Regions from separate parts of the Homo sapiens genome. Here region 2 is linked to region 1. Evidence: promoter capture Hi-C in 16 types of primary human blood cells and fetal thymus (Javierre and others, 2016). All regions are on one chromosome and are shown on one strand. Each heading gives the region's core, a stretch centred on a gene start or on the middle of the fragment in contact. The rest is flanking DNA. Distances are from core to core; before and after follow the strand shown.

Region 1 (3,382 bases), core at 425-2,924:
TTTATCTTGTCTTTTAATCCTTGCAGCAAGATGGCAAAGCAGATATTATTTATCCCAATCCCAATTTTTTTTTTTTTTTTTTTTTGAGACGGAGTCTCACTCTGTCGCCCAGGCTGGAGTGCAGTGGCGCGATCTTGGCTCACTGCAAGCTCCACCTCCCGGGTTCACGCCATTCTCCTGCCTTAGCCTCCCAAGTAGCTGGGACTACAGGCGTCTGCCACCACGCCTGGCTAATTTTTTGTATTTTTAGTAGAGATGGGGTTTCACCGCACTAGCCAGGATGGTCTTGATCTCCTGACCTTGCGATCCGCCCACCTCGGCCTCCCAAAGTGCTAGGATTACAAGCGTGAGCCACCGCGCCCGACCCCAGTTTTTTTTTTAAGCTATCTCTTACAGAAAGGCTATCCCAAATTTAAAGAGAAGGAAACTGGCCGGGTGCGGTGGCTCACGCCTGTAATCCCAGCATTTTGCGAGACCCAGGCGGGCAGATCACTTGAGGTCAGGAGTTCGAGACTAGCCTGGCCAACATGGTGAAACCCCATCTCTACTAAAAATACAAAAATTAGCCGGGCATGGTGGCGGGCGCCTGTAATCCCAGCTACTCGGGAGGCTGAGGCAGGAGAATAGCTTGAACCCGGGAGGCGGAGGTTGCAGTGAGCCGAGATCGAGCCACTGTACTCCAGCCTGGGCGACGGAGTGAGACTCGGTCTCAAAAATAAAAATTAAAAAAATTAAAAAAATGTTAAAAATAATAATAAAGAGAAGGAAACTAAAAATCAGAGGAGTTAAGTAAATTTGTCCACGGTCACAGATAAGTGGTCCGTGCGCAAGGTAGGTAGTTTCATGCCCAGTTTACAGGGGAGTTAAAACGAGGGCCTGAGAAAGTTACTCTTGTTTTTCAGCTTGCTACACCGTCCCTCTATCCCGATAGGACTCAGACAGAGCAAACAAGTTATTGATAGTTCTTCACTAACGAGCATCGCAAAGGCCGAATTCAGCCATCCTCCCAGTCCAGGGAGCATTCCCGCCCCAGACACGTCCCCTTCCCCTTTCCCTTTCCCTGTGCCCCCACCCCCCAGCTCACCGTCCCTCTGCCTCTCCTTCACAATATACAAGACGGTGCCGCCAGGATACGAAAGGCCGGCTGCTTCACCCACCCCTCCAGGCTAAGATTAGGGCCAGGACCCTAGCCGAAGGCGGGGTGTGGGGAGATGAGGTTGAGGACAAGCCGCGGGGGCTCGGGCTGGGCTGGTCCCACGAAGCGGAGGGGAAGCCCGTACGGGAGCTGCAGGGCATTCCCGGAGAGAAGCCCCATTACGGAGACCCCAGAGAGCGGAGCCAGGGAGGCAAGAGGCGACCCAGCCGAGCTCGAAGCCGGGATGAAGGGTTAAGAGGTGCGGGGAGAGGGGAGTGGCTTGGAGGGGCCCCGAGATCGGGCCTCGCCGGAAGCGCCCCTCCTGATCGCCAGAGAACGCAGCCCCAAGGGAGGGCCCAGGCCCGCCATCTGTTCACCTGTGATCCTGCTGCCGCGGGACTGCCTGCGGCCCGGAGTCCGGCACTAAAAAGGTTCCGAGGGCCCACGTCTCCCGAGAGGCTGTGGCGCAGTCTGGACCCAAGCCATTGTGAGAGCGGCGGCGATTTCGAAGGTCCCCAAGACCCACTAGGTAGCAGTACCACCCAGCGGGCAGGCAGCACTGCAGATAAAGCCTCCGGAGACCGCGGGATCTCGCGCGAGACTTGGCCCAGCGGAGCACAGGGCATGCTGGGAGTTGTTGTCCACGATCGCGAGACCCGCCCCCTCCCCATGCCCTTCGCCGCCCAGCGAGTTGTGGAGCCGCAGCTCCGAGTGTGGAATCCGCCAGCCCCGAGAGGAAACGCCACACTTCACCACCACTTCCTCAGCGCGTGTGCTGTGCCTGGGTCCGTGACAAGCTAAGGGAAGACGGAGGTAGCATAGTAAAATGACACCCACAAACCCAAGCCCTCAAGGCTCAAAAAGGGCTGCCAAGTGCGAGCACTTGTCATCCTGTTTTTCCCACTTCACGGAGGTGAAGCTGAGACTGGGAGAGATGAGAAGTCACTTCGATTAGCAAGCGGTGCAGTGAGCACGGACTGTCTCCCAAAACAGCGGGGTTAGGCAGGGTTCGTACTAGTAGCTGAACCAAAAAAGGGAACCGACCTCACCTGCCTCCCCTAGGGAAGGCGATCCTAATATCATTTCTCTTTTACATAAAGGAGAGTGAGGCTTAGAGGCGCCAGCTGAGGTGTCAGTCACATCCTGAAGGAAGACTTCTCTTATCCCTGAAGGGTTCACAAAGAAGGCGAAGCAACGAAGTTACAGCAGAATTTGCAAAAATCTATCCACGTTTCTACCCCAGTCCAAAGCTCGCCATCAAAACTCATCTCAGGAGAGCTATGATTGGTGGTGCAGGGTGAATGTCACATTTAGATTTCAGCATTTGAGGCTTCCAGCCGTACTGGCAGAACTGAGAGGCCTTGCTCATGCGACTTGAAACTTAAGCGCTGTTTCCAGACCAGGGTGCTTGAGTGCACTAAGAATTAAAGTCTTTGATGAATTCTATAATTAGCTTATCAACAGCACAATTACATTGCAGTATAATTGTGTGTATATGTGTGCGTGCGTGTGTGTGTTAAAGGTGTTCCTTTGTTAATTTGGAGCTTTTAAAATATGCCATATTTTTTAACCTCTGTGGAAGCAAAGCTGGCACCTTGCTCTTTATCCACCACAGGAAGGGATGTATATCACCTCTCAGTCAGAAAAGGAAGAAATAGCACTTTGCACCCTTATGTAGATCATAAGGTGGGATCATCTCATTTATTTCTTAGCCACAAATACATGAAAACTTAAGACTTTCCTGGAAGTTACTATTTGATTAAAACAACTTTTTCTGGCTGGGCACGGTGGTTCAGGCCTGTAATCCCAACACTTTCAGAGGCTGAGGCGTTCGAGACCATCCTGGCCAACACGGCGAAACCCCGTCTCTACTAAAATACAAAAATCAGCCAGGCGTAGTGACAGGTGCCTGTAATCCCAGCTATTCTGGAGACTGAGGCAGGAGAATCTCTTGAACCTGGGAGACGGAGGCTGCAGTCTGCCTTGTCCTAGGTACCCCCAGTGACTGCCAAGGCTTCCACGTGTGTAGCACGAGGAGGAAGAACAGGAGAAACGACCTGAGTACAGCAGTCGGGTTCTTTTGGCTCTCCAGAGGGGTGACGCCATGTACGGCTGGCTGTAGGGTACATGGGTTGAGAGACCGCCTGTGGCTCTCAGGGCCCAGCAGGGCTACCTCTTTCCCTTTATATTGTCTCAACTCTTCACCTCCTTTTAGTTCGCGATTCCTCTGTACCCCTGGCTCTGGGT
Region 2 (3,361 bases), core at 2-2,501, 280 kb after region 1:
TCACAACCCATCCTGACTCCTTTTTTTGGCTCAGGTGAGTGAAGCTGAGGGTGGAATCCGAGAGTGGGAGGAGGAGGAGAAGGAGGAGGAGGCAGCAGAGAGGACGCCCACAGGAGAAAAGTCTCCAAACTCTCCCAGGACTTTGCTGTCTCTGAGAGGGAAGGCCCGGACGGGGGGCCCCATGGAAGTCAAGCTGGAGCTGCACCCCTTGCAGAACAGGTAGGCAGGAGCCTGCGAGTGGAACACAGCCCCTTGCTTTCAGGCCAGCCTCTGTGCTGGCAGCGTGGCCTTGGGCAACCCCGCCTCTCTTGGCCCTAGCTCTTCATCCGTGGGAGGCCAGGGCTGACCTAAGCCTTGGGCCCTGTTGGCCCTTCCAGCCCTAACCCCGCAGAGACTGTGGGTCAAACACCCCCACTCCTCCCCTGCCCTTCAGGACAACTGATTTCATTCACCTGAGAGGGGAATGCTGTGCCCCAAATCTCATCTCCCAGTTCGCCCTTGAAGGGGAGGGTCCTCCCTGTCAGTCCAGGTGCCCCGGGGGTGGACTTGGCTCTCTGCTTCCTCCTGGCTGCCTCCCCCTTCCCCTACCAGGTGGGCTCTGTGGTTCTTCAAGAATGACCGCAGCCGGGCCTGGCAGGACAACCTGCACCTGGTCACCAAGGTGGACACTGTGGAGGACTTCTGGGCGTGAGTGTCTGTCCCCAGTGGGGCTAGAGTTGGGGGGCTCTGAGCTCTGGGCTCCCTCTCTCCGGGTTGAGCCAGCCCTCCCTAGGGCCTTTCAGCCTTTGTGAGGGCTGGGGCTTTGTGGGTTCTGCCCAGGGGGTATAGGGCACAACCACCCCCCACCCCACCACCTTCTTTGGGCTCAGGGAGAGAGCCTGGGGAGCAGGAGAAGCAGGAAGCTGACCTTGACTCGGCCACTCCAGGGCTTTGTGACCTGGGCAAGTTCCTTCCCCTCTCTGAACCTGTCTCAGCTGCAAAGGGAGGACTCGGCTGCCTCAGTGTCCGGGTGCTCACGGGAGTGGCTCTGAAAAGGGCTACACAAGCCCTAGGGAGGGTGAGAAGGCCTCGGCTGTAGCTGGAGGGGGGAGCACCAGGGGGTCTAAAACCCTCCCCAGGGGTTGGCTCAGCCTTCACTGGGAAGGCTCTGTGGAAAAGGTGGGTCTTGAGAGTTTGGATAAACGGGAGTGGAATCCCAGGTGGCAGGCCAGTGTAAGCAAAGGCTTGGAGGCCATGGGGTCGGATGAGGAGTTGGGAGGGCTGAACCCAGTTGGAACCAGGCCCTAAAAAGCCTTGACTTTTGGCATGGGGTCGGGGGCTCTGTCCAGGCTATACAGTCACATCCAGCTGGCCAGCAAGCTCTCCTCTGGCTGTGACTACGCCCTCTTCAAGGTAAGCTCTGCTCTCCTCTTTCCCTCCCGCAAAGGGACAAGGGGTTGATCCCTCCCGGACTCCACTGCGTTAATCCCTCAGAGGGGTGGGGGTGGGGAGCTACGGGCCACCTCTCAGCAGAGTTGTGGTTTCTGACTGGAGGAAATGCTCTACAGGAGCCCGGACAGAGTAGGTCAGGCCCAAGCCGCACCTTGGAGGACCTTAAGAGGCGGGAAGAGGGAGAGGGAGAGATTTCTGACCTGGCTCCTTAACTAGGGAAGGGCATCAGAATTGCTTGAGGACACTCATTGATGCCACACCCATCCCTGGAGGGCTGACATTGTGTTTAGAGATCTCCCCAGTGACTTCTGCCCTGCCTGGGAACCATGCAGCCAAGCCTGGGATGTCCCCCTTGCCTGCATTGGGGTCTGCCCCTGAGGCTTCCTTAATCCACCCCGATTTGAATGCTTGTCTTAAGGAACTCAGTAAAAGAGACATGCACATATACAAGGCTATACAAGGTGACCAGTGCTGTCTGTCGGGGGGAGCTGAGTGGCTGGGGGTGGAACCTGCTTGCACTGAGGGAAGGGAGGATAAGAGAATCTGGCCTACTTAGGGCCTCAGCAGAGAGCGGATAAGGCCGGGATGGTGGGTGGGTCCCCATTTCCCTTTGAACACAGGGAGGCAGTTGACTTGCCATCTGCCTTGCAGGATGGCATCCAGCCCATGTGGGAGGACAGCAGGAATAAACGGGGTGGCCGCTGGCTGGTCAGCCTGGCCAAGCAGCAGCGCCACATTGAGCTGGACCGGCTGTGGCTGGAGACGGTGAGTTGGAGGAGGAGGGTCCTCAGGGGAAGAGACGGGCTGTGTGGGTCTCATGGTGGCAGTGGTCTCAAGGATGGCAGGCCAGTCCCTATGTCCCAGCCGGTGATCTCACAACCCCCTACTTCGGGTCCAGCTGCTGTGTCTGATCGGGGAGAGCTTTGAGGAACACAGCAGAGAGGTATGTGGGGCCGTCGTCAACATCCGCACCAAGGGGGACAAGATCGCTGTGTGGACGAGGGAGGCGGAAAACCAGGCGGGCGTGCTGCACGTTGGGTGAGGAGGGTCTCTGGCACAGGGTGGGGACTTGGGTCTCTGCTAGAGGGAAGGTGGGTGGAGGGGGCTTGGCCTGCATGGGAGACCTCTGAAAGTCTCCATAGCCTCCCTCCCTTCTGCCTTGCCCACCTGTATGGAAGGTCTGGCGTTCAGATTTCTAACTTTCTCTTACGGCAGTGCAGCTCTCCTTTTGCATTAAGGGGGTCATATTTTGGGTTTCCACATGGGTAAGACACAACAGGTGTGGCTGTGGCCAGAATGAGGGTAGGAGTCTGGTGGCCTAAGTTATCTCTAGGACCCTCTGATGACTACCTGTGTCTCTTTTCCTCTGTGTCCCCCGCACCTGCAGGCGTGTATACAAAGAGCGCCTGGGCCTCTCCCCAAAGACCATCATTGGGTACCAGGCCCATGCAGACACAGCCACCAAGAGCAACTCCCTAGCCAAGAACAAGTTTGTGGTGTGAGGGGGGCCTTGGCACCCCTCCTATGTAATGGGACAGCCGCCACTGAGCCTCATTACTTTGGGGGATGGGGCGGGACTGGGGATCAGACAGCCTAGTTCTTACCTGTCCTCAAGTGAACAGGAATGCAAACACTCTTTAACATGAGTTGGGGCCTGAGCCTTAGGGGCTAGATGGGGGTAGTGGTGGCAGTCTGAGGACCTAGCTTGTCCTGGGGCCACAGGACAGCAGCAGGGTGGAAAAAACTCCTGAGGGTGGGGTGAGTCATGGCGGGGAAGGAGGGCTCTATGGTAGGCGGAGAAACCCATAGTCCAGCGTTTACTGTTTCCACCCAGGAAGGAGGTGAGGTGGCCTGAGAGACAGACTCTTCCATGGGTGGTGGGCTCAAGGGCACAGACATTCTGGAGGGTGAACGCCATCATTTGTACAGA

What was found. The method cuts DNA at HindIII sites, captures the fragments that hold promoters and counts their contacts. A CHiCAGO score of 5 or more calls a contact.
Region 2: a fragment that was not itself captured here is called in contact with the fragment with the promoter of KIAA1191 in region 1 in 7 of 17 cell types (non-activated CD4 T cells, naive CD8 T cells, naive B cells and 4 more); the score reaches 7.2 in non-activated CD4 T cells.

The regions. Positions count from the first base shown.
Region 1 is chr5:176,360,090-176,363,471 of GRCh38, forward strand. It overlaps KIAA1191, which reads right to left and starts at 1,675. Exons shown (of 9, transcript NM_020444.5): 1 at 1,513-1,675. RefSeq lists an enhancer at 1,431-1,750. The HindIII fragment of the contact is 14,901 bases long and covers 1-3,382 here.
Region 2 is chr5:176,643,048-176,646,408 of GRCh38, forward strand. EIF4E1B (eukaryotic translation initiation factor 4E family member 1B) reads left to right here. Exons shown (of 9, transcript NM_001099408.2): 4 at 35-219; 5 at 592-687; 6 at 1,329-1,392; 7 at 2,083-2,196; 8 at 2,330-2,469; 9 at 2,819-3,361. The coding sequence ends at 2,933. Among named protein-coding and RNA genes, the nearest start is that of TSPAN17, 2.8 kb to the right of the region's middle. RefSeq lists enhancers at 397-1,038, 1,039-1,678, 2,260-2,770, 3,041-3,335. The HindIII fragment of the contact is 4,593 bases long and covers 1-3,361 here.